Linked DNA regions of Homo sapiens: regions 1 and 3 are each linked to region 2. Evidence: promoter capture Hi-C in human tissues and cell types (Jung and others, 2019). All regions are on one chromosome and are shown on one strand. Each heading gives the region's core, a stretch centred on a gene start or on the middle of the fragment in contact. The rest is flanking DNA. Distances are from core to core; before and after follow the strand shown. Region 1 has its middle 59 kb from the start of RPL10L. Region 2 holds the start of RPL10L (ribosomal protein L10 like). Region 3 has its middle 40 kb from the start of RPL10L.

Region 1 (3,164 bases), core at 613-3,112, 59 kb before region 2:
ACAATAATATAAATGACTTTTAACAATTAATGGTATACATTCCAAACTTGCTTAATTAATTTATTACCTAAAGCCATTTTTAGTTCTTTTCCTTATGCTTGTATTTATGCTAACTATACAGATTTATATTTTTAATTTATCAATTAGTGTAATTTAAAATTACTTACAGGCCAGGCCCAATAGCTCATGCCTATAATTCCAATACTTCGGGAGCTCAAGGCAGGATGAATCGCTTGAGCCCAGGAATTTGAGACCAGCCTGGCAACATAGTGAGACCTTGTCTCTACAAAAAAAAAAAAAAAAATTTAAAACTAGGATTGCTTGAGCCCAGGAGGTCAAGGCTGCAATGAGCCATGATCCTGCCACTGCACTTCTGCCTGGGTGACAGAGCTAGACTCTGCCTCAAATAAAATAAAATAAAATAAAATAAAATAAAATAAAATAAAATAAAATAAAATAAAATAAAATATTACTTATCGATTTCTGAATCAGGAATGTATCTTGGATTTAAGATTTTCCAATAAACTGCTTATATCCAATAAACTGCTTGAAAGCTTTTTAGTGTTAACATATTAATTGCAATGCATCCTAAGTGAAATGACAATTTCATTTCAAAAGTGAAAGTGAAACTTCAGGCTAGGCGCGGTGGCTCAGCCTGTAATCCCAGCACTTTGGGAGGTCGTGGCAGGCAGATCACTTGAAGTCAAGAGTTCAAGACCAGCCTGGCCAACATGGCAAAACCCTGTCTCTAGTAAAAATACAAAAATTATTCGGGTGTGGCGGCGCAGGCCTGTAGTCCCAGCTACTCTCCTTGAACCCAGAAGGTGGAGGTTGTAGTAAGCCAAGATCATGCCACTGCACTTCAGCCGGGGTGACAGAATGAGACTCTGTCTCAAAAAACAAAAACAGAAAGTGATACTGAAATGTCACTTTTTCTGAACATTATATTTTATACCTGAATTTTCTCTACTCTGTCCTCACCATTTTCTTTGTCATCTAGGTTGAAATTCTTAGAAATTTCTTGTTTAGTTCTAAGTCCACATTCCATATAGCTAATTATTTGCTAAGTCTTAAGGATTCTTTCTTTACAGTGTTTTTCCACATATACCTTCATGTTTACTTTAACTGTCAACTCTTATTTAGAGACTGCAGCAATTATTTTGAACTAATTTCCATTCTCCTTTAATCTCCGTGCTACATTTCATCCTAGATATATGACAGGTTAATCTCATTTTCACTTCACAACTCTTATGCTCAAAGGTCTTTAATAACTCCTTACTAATTTCTAGTTTTGGTTTAAACCTCTCTGCCAAGGGACTCCTAAAACATGTTCCCAAATAATCATTCCAACCTTTTCTCTCAGTGGTACTATTGCACATATCCTGAGCTGCAATTATATTTAACCAATCACTTTTCTTCCTGTCCAGGAAATTTGAACAGAAGTCTTAAAGGTTCCTGAACTGTTAATACCCTTACAAAAAGCATATGGACACCCCTCAAATATTTCTGTGGTTTGTCTTGCAGACTTTGCAATAGCAATTGATCAATGGATGTCTAAGACATCTTTGAAAGACAGAAGAACTGACCCTCCTTTTTACATTCCTTTTTAGAAAAACTAGCTCCACCATCCCTGGATTCTGCCCATACTGGGGACAACATTAGAGAATGGTCTATATGGAATACACAATACCAATGGAAATATTCCCTCCCTAAGCAGAAGACTGAAGCACTTTTCAAGTAAATAGCTCTTCACCTATATCAGCATTTCATTTTATCCACCAGTACATCTAGAACAGCCTATATTCTCTTTAAAAATAAGAAGTGATTTTATAAATGAGTATCCTAAGCAGAAATAGAGAGGATTGCCTTAATTATGCTATCCTTAAAACAAGTCCAACCTTCAGTCTGTAAATTCTACAGAAATAACATTATTTGACCCCAAAAAATAGTAGATTGTAAGTCAACACAAAGCTTCCCTTTTGTGAATGCATTTTAGTATTCCAAGAAATAGGAAAGAAAAAGTATTCACCAGAAACTCCCAGGTACAATATCTGGGATGTGTGCACACTGTGGCAAAGATACAGACACCCCATTTAAACCCTAATTTTTGTGGTGAGTCAATTGTGGGCTGGTAGCAAGAAGACAGGTTCATTATATATACTTCCATGTGTTCCTTTCTCTAATATAGGTTCTGAACAATGACGGGTCAAGTCTGGACGTGGGCCAACTTTATTCTAGACAATTTCCCAGAAAAGTTGAAAATAAAGACCTGGGACATAAATTGGAACCTGAATTAACAATCTCATGGGACAGAGTGGTAGCCTGGTACAGGGGTCTGAACACATCAGAAGAAATATAAATAAATAGAGGAATTTTAAACCAGCAAACAATCACTAAAGTGAGAAAAGAGATTAAACTCATTTTAGCCATACCAAGTCTCAATAAGATTTACTACACACATGTCTTTTCTAAGTAAGTTACTACCAGATATCATGTTGCATATTAAGCAAGGAAATCAAGGCAGAGGAAAAAAATAAGATGTAGAAAACAGTGCATCTTCACTAACATCCTAGCGAATAAAAGTCCCAAAGCCCAGTTTTATATAGAGGAATTTAAATGGTCTTCAATACCGTTATCATTAATCATAATCATTTGTACAAATATTTGTACAATATTTATTGTCCACTTATTATATTCAAGGTGCTGTTTAACATATGCTAACTCCTTAAATACACACACATTCCTATAAATTGGATACAGTTGAGACTAAGTTGTCCAAGGAAAACTATAAGTAGGGACCAGGCCACCAACACTGGCAGTCTAATGCCAAAGACTCAATATCATCTAGTAGTCAGCTATTATTTAATTTGTCAAAAATCACTTGGGTATAAATAAGTGCCCCAAAAAAGGAACATTAAAGTAAAATAAAATTATCTGAATCTAGTATTAAAACTATATATCATATAACTTCTGTTTGGCAAACTAGAAAAAATGGTCATTACCTTGAAATAATTTACTTATCCAACTACACAAACCGATTATCCATGAAAAAAAAATTCTCATTGAATTATTAAGTCCCCTGTTTCTCCAAACCTTGAAACTTCAACATTATGCAATTTTCAGGTCCAATCTGTAAAACTGCATTATAAATTTTATTATGTTTT
Region 2 (2,795 bases), core at 213-2,712:
ACTCTAATTCAGGGCAAGCACCTACAATTGCAAACTCTCTTTAGGGTCCTTTTATAGCACAGATAACCGATTTAGTGTCATTTTCTCTCTTCTTTTGGTTCTACTGGAGCCCAGATACAAGTAATATGAACTCTGTTGTCACCTATGACCTTTCTATGATGAAAAAAAGATTAGACTGTTATCTCTTGACTGTGAGACAATGTAAAGTTCGTCTGGAAAAGCCTTTCAGAGTGATACTCAATTGTCCTAAGGCTGATAATCAGACGTGTAAGGTAATTCTAAAAACAATGTACAGAAATTTATAGAAAAACATAAGGCAACCAAGTTTAGAAATAAATTACTTCCAAAGAGGCTGTGGGTGAAATATCACTAATGCCTACTATTATTTTCATCGCTACTGTTTAGTTTATATTCTATAAACAAATTTTTTCACTCAAATCTATTTTTTATTCAAGGAATGATAGCTGCATAACTTATGACTTTACTACAAACAAAACTTTCAACATATTGCTCTATACTCTCCTAAATTTAAAGTGTTTGCTTAAAACAGCTTTCTCTATAAATTGTATAGTTTTACTGAAGCAAGGAAGGTAACATTTGCCATTAAAACTGAATAAATAGAAAAAAATTCTCTAGTAGTCTATATTCTAAAACATTGGATATTTAAAAAATATTAAAACTTAATAAGGAGTTATTTTTTGCCAGTAAACAGAATTTATTAGTAAGCATAAGTCAGACCAGCATGGCCCAAGGAGACAGTACTGCCAAAACCTTCATGAGTGCAGAACCCGCCACTTGTCCAAGGGGCCATGACTGGGAACGTACTTGACTCCACAACCATCAGGGATGAGGCACTTCTTGGCCACCATGTCTTCAAATTCGTCAGCATTAAACTTCGTGAAGCCCCACTTCTTGGAGATATGAATCTTCTGGCGTCCAGGGAACTTGAACTTGGCCCTGCGCAAGGCTTCAATCACATGCTCCTCGTTCTGAAGCTTGGTGCGGATGGACATGATGACTTGACCAATGTGGACCCGGGCTACAGTACCCTGGGGTTTTCCAAAGGCACCTCGCATACCTGTCTGGAGCCTGTCAGCCCCAGCACAGGACAACATCTTGTTGATGCGGATGACATGGAAGGGATGGAGCCGCACTCGCATGTGAAAGCCATCTCTGCCACAACTTTTCACCATGTATTTGTTGGCACAAATACGGGCGGCCTCCAGGGCTTCAGAAGACAGCTGCTCATATTCATCAGACACCATGTGGCCACCGAGTGGGAACTCATCCACTTTTGCCTTCTTTCTACCCAGGTCAAAGATGCGGATCTTGGCATCAGGAACCCCTCGGCAGAAACGAGATTTTGGGTACGGCTTGTTCTTACAATACCGGTAACAGCGAGCTGGACGGCGCCCCATGGCGACACAGTAACGTCGGCGGTGCCTCGAAGTCAAAATGCGCTCTCTTAACTACGCCTGCGCGCATTTATATACGTTGCCCCTCGTCCCTCGCGGGAACCATAGAGTCCTGAGGCCGGAACCATAGAGTCCTGAGGAGGATGTGACGACTCTCTTTCAGGACGTCCCAACCAGAGACGCAGGGACGTCTGGCGCCTCAGCGCCTGCGCCAAGTGGCGCGCTTAAGGTGAGCAGAGTCAGCTGTGGGTAGACTCCCCCTGGCGGCCAGGGAAGGAATTGGGCCCCGCCCCAACTGCACAGCTGCTGCTTCCTTTCTGCTAGCCATCTTGGGCTAGGAACTCTTGCTTTCAGCTTTGCTTTAAGTATAAAAGAGGTTATTTCCAGGCAGGAGAATCTCTTGAGCTCAGGAGTTCGAGGCCAGCCTGGGCAATATAGTGAAATGCTGTCTCTACAAAAAAAAAAATATATATATATCAAATAGCTGGGCATGGTGGCACATGCTTGTAGTCCCAGCTACTCAGGAGGCTGAGGTGGGAGGATCGCCTGGGCCCTGCAGGCAGAAACTGCAGTGAGCTGAGATAGCACCACTGCACTCCAGCTTGAGTGACAGAGGGAGACCCTGTCTAAAGAAAAAGAAAAAAAGAAATCCTAGAATTTGAGAGGAAAAATCCTTCCAGTTATTCAACATGCTGTTTCCAGTTTGGTCAGTTCATTTTCCAGAGCTTGTATCTCACTGTCAGCATTTGTAGATCAATTGCTGTTTCTTGGGTTATGTGGCCACCTTCCCTGGATAAAGTGGTTTCTTGGCATGAGTGCTTTGATGAGACTCAGGAAGAGATGAGAGGAAGAGAAGAGAGAGGGATAAAGAGAAGATATCTGTTGTATCTGTAGCTTGGCAATTGTTTTATAAACATGAAACTTTGTTTTTTCTTTATTTGGCCTAAAGAAATGATTTTATTATCAAAATGATATATACAAAATTGAAACACCAACTAGATTTTTTTTAACTTAAGGCTATTTGCATTTTCAAATGTTAAAGCTGCTGAAACTATATAAAAGAGTAACAGTTTGTGTTTTAGTAATCTTTTGCCCCTGAGAATAAATTTAAACTTTTTTTCTTCTCAGAGTTTGTAAAAATATTATGACAGGGATCAGAGTGTAGGAAAGGAGGAAGAAGAGAGAGGAAAAGAAATTAATAGTTTACAAACCCTACTTGCATTTTTCTAGTTTTCTTTTTTGTTTTAATGTTGTTTCACAAATCCATTACATCATGGAACAAAATCCCCCCAATGTGAATATATTCTGTCAATACTCTTTGTTTTAAGGGAGAAAAATAACTCCTGCCCTTAAAGTGAGTGGATTTTTACAAAATACTAA
Region 3 (2,804 bases), core at 152-2,651, 40 kb after region 2:
TTCATAGTAGAGTCTGATCTCCCATCAGCAAGAAGCCTATCTCCTTACTGGAAAACAAAAATAGAAATTACCAAAGAGCTTGTTTATTTTTTTTTTCCAAAGGCCTGGCTACTTTCCTAGAATAATAGTTAATCCATTTATTTCCTCCTTTGATTCACTTTCTTCTCTATTTCCCCAAGCTGGCAAGAATAGATGAATATTTTTTTCCCTCCAGTAGGAACAAAATAAAATCAAACAAGTATGAAATCTCAATATGTCATTCTATCTCACTTGTTAAAATGAATGGCTTTACCCATTGTGGCAGCTACTCTGGTTGCCCAGTCAATAGACACCCTCTGCCATTATTCTTCCTTGCTAGAAACACAGAGTAATTTTGTTTGAGTAGTCTTCTGCCATACAATCAGTCTCAGATGTGGTTATAATTCTCACCTACCTCTAGGCCCTAGAGTGAATGATGAATGTTCTAAGATAATCATAAAAATCTTATTACTCTAGCCATTGGTTGGTTTATGTATGAATATTTGTCACATTCTTTGCCAACGAAATCTGATGGAAAGCTTCCTTCTTAGAAAGGTTTTCCTCACTAGATCATATAGACAGATAAGAAAAAAAAATGCCCAGTTCCCCATTGGATGATGTTGCATTTACATGTGATGACTGAAATTGTGGAGTCCTCATATGTAAATGTAGTAATACTTAGCATGACTGTCATGCTAAGTATGGCAAGACAGAAAGATGGACTAGGACATCACTAATTCCTGAAGTATTCATCCTGAAAGACCTTTCCTGTTATATAAGAAAACAAGGCTTATTCTTTAAGCCACTTTTACTAGGGTCTTCAGTTACAACTGGAAGAAACCTATTTGACAATCCAATTTTCTTATACAGGTATTTTTATAAACGTATTTGTCTACCTATAATGAGCATTAAAATAGCAAAAATAAAATAAACTAACCCTCTTTAACAAATAGGAGTGTTACTATATGAAATAAAGTCATCTGGTATGTAGAACAAATTGTGCAGAGTTTCATTTTTCTTACCAGGAAACCAGATTGTTTTATTATCTGATAATACTTATTCATACAGCTTTAGTTAAGAATTCAAGCTAACAAAAATGTTGGTCCCATTGATGTGTTTACTTTTTCAAGGAAGTTGTGGTCACATTATTAGCTACTTTCCCTGATAATTACATTTTTTGCTTTTACATAAAGGTACACTGGATGATTGATTGATTGATCTTCAGACTACAATCATCAAACAGAACCTCCAGACTTCCATTTTCTATTTATCTATGTCCTAAAGAATCACCTTCCTTTCTGTTTTTAAAGACTCTCTTACCCTGCCAAGGATGTTATCTTAGAAACCTGTTGGGCAGTGGTAGGACAGGTTTCTATCCAGACACTGTTCTTGTTACGTATATCAGCACATGTTCTTATTAAACGTCTCAACAACTCTCATAAGCAAATGCCAGTGTTATATCCACCTCAGCTGTATGACGAATCACTTAGTAACACAGGTGAGAATATTCCATTCTTTCACAGGGCTATCACCTCCAATCTACACAACTTAATACTTCATTGAGAGAATAGTGCTTATGAAGGCTTGCCAAATATTACAAAAAATTCATATTTGACATACTTGTAAAATTTTACCTTGAATTTAACTAGTCTTCAGCTTCTCATTGATGGAATTGTTGCTAAGGTTTTGGTGGGGATGATATTCACTGATTATACCGTATTATTTTTATAGAGAACTACATAGAAAATGTCTTTTGGTTCCTGGTATCAGGAATTCTTATGCTTCTGTTAAAAAGAATGATTCACTTTTATCCTCTAAGTACTGTAAGAAATTACATATTTACTTCTTTGTGTCATTTTCTAAAAACATCAAAGGCCCATGTGGCCCATATCTAGCAAAATTCATGGATCAATCTAACCTTTTGCTTTCTATTCTTGTTTTTTCTACTTTTAAAACATTTTTACCACGCTTACTTTCCTTTGCTATAATCTTCTCACTCACTAATTTGCCAGCTTCCACATATCCACCCCACTTCGCTCATCAGAATGCTGAGAGTTTTACATTTAAGTTTCTCTTAAACTATTTTTTATTTCCAATAAAATCACCTTAGGACAGGTTGCTACAATCTCTCTTTTAAAGCTATGAGAGTTCGCCAAATTCCTTTTGGGCCCTCTCTAATTCATTCTGTTGACTGTTGGCAAATAATCTTTTCAACATGAAAATTTGATTGGGTACTTCTAAGACAAAACTTCTGCCAGAACAACACACACACACACACACACACACACACTCCTCAAATTCTTATTACCTTACGTAAAACTGCCAAATCCTGGAGAATTATAAGACCAAAGGGAAACTATTTCCATTCTCTATGTTACTAGCCCAGACCATAAAAGAGAAACTTTCAACTTCCTGGGAGATGAAAAGGTGGTTTCTTCCCTTCCTTCTTTGTCCTTCCCATGCTCTTTACCATGGATGAAATGTTTATCTGGTTGGAAAGATTGGAGAAGTGATTAAACATGTATATCTCACATATTCTGCACAGTTTCCTTGGTTCTGCAAACATCAAATAAATTGTGGATTCATGAGGAAGATGATGCATAGTTGGCAGGCAAGATTCTATTAGTTTCCTACGGCTGCTATAAAAAAGTACCACAAAATGGGTGGCTTGAACCTACAAATATATTGCCTCACAATTCTGGAGGCTAGAAGTCTGAAGTCAAGGCTTTGGTGGGTCAATGCTCTCTCTGAAAACTGTGAGAGATCATTATTTCTTGCCTCTTTTT

What was found. Contacts are between HindIII fragments. The study calls those that stand out against the background at their distance.
Region 1: a fragment that was not itself captured here is called in contact with the fragment with the promoter of RPL10L in region 2 in 2 of the 25 tissues and cell types used here (dorsolateral prefrontal cortex and mesenchymal stem cells).
Region 3: a contact is called between a fragment that was not itself captured here and the fragment with the promoter of RPL10L in region 2, in 3 of the 25 tissues and cell types used here (adrenal gland, dorsolateral prefrontal cortex and spleen).

The regions. Positions count from the first base shown.
Region 1 is chr14:46,590,980-46,594,143 of GRCh38, forward strand. No RefSeq gene overlaps it. Among named protein-coding and RNA genes, the nearest start is that of RPL10L, 59 kb to the right of the region's middle. The HindIII fragment of the contact is 5,172 bases long and covers 1-3,164 here.
Region 2 is chr14:46,650,319-46,653,113 of GRCh38, forward strand. RPL10L (ribosomal protein L10 like) reads right to left here and starts at 1,463. Exons shown (of 1, transcript NM_080746.3): 1 at 692-1,463. The coding sequence starts at 1,418. The coding sequence ends at 774. All of the region lies in intron 3 of LOC105370481 (a long non-coding RNA gene), which reads right to left. The HindIII fragment of the contact is 6,030 bases long and covers 1-2,795 here.
Region 3 is chr14:46,690,607-46,693,410 of GRCh38, forward strand. No RefSeq gene overlaps it. Among named protein-coding and RNA genes, the nearest start is that of RPL10L, 40 kb to the left of the region's middle. The HindIII fragment of the contact is 3,642 bases long and covers 1-2,804 here.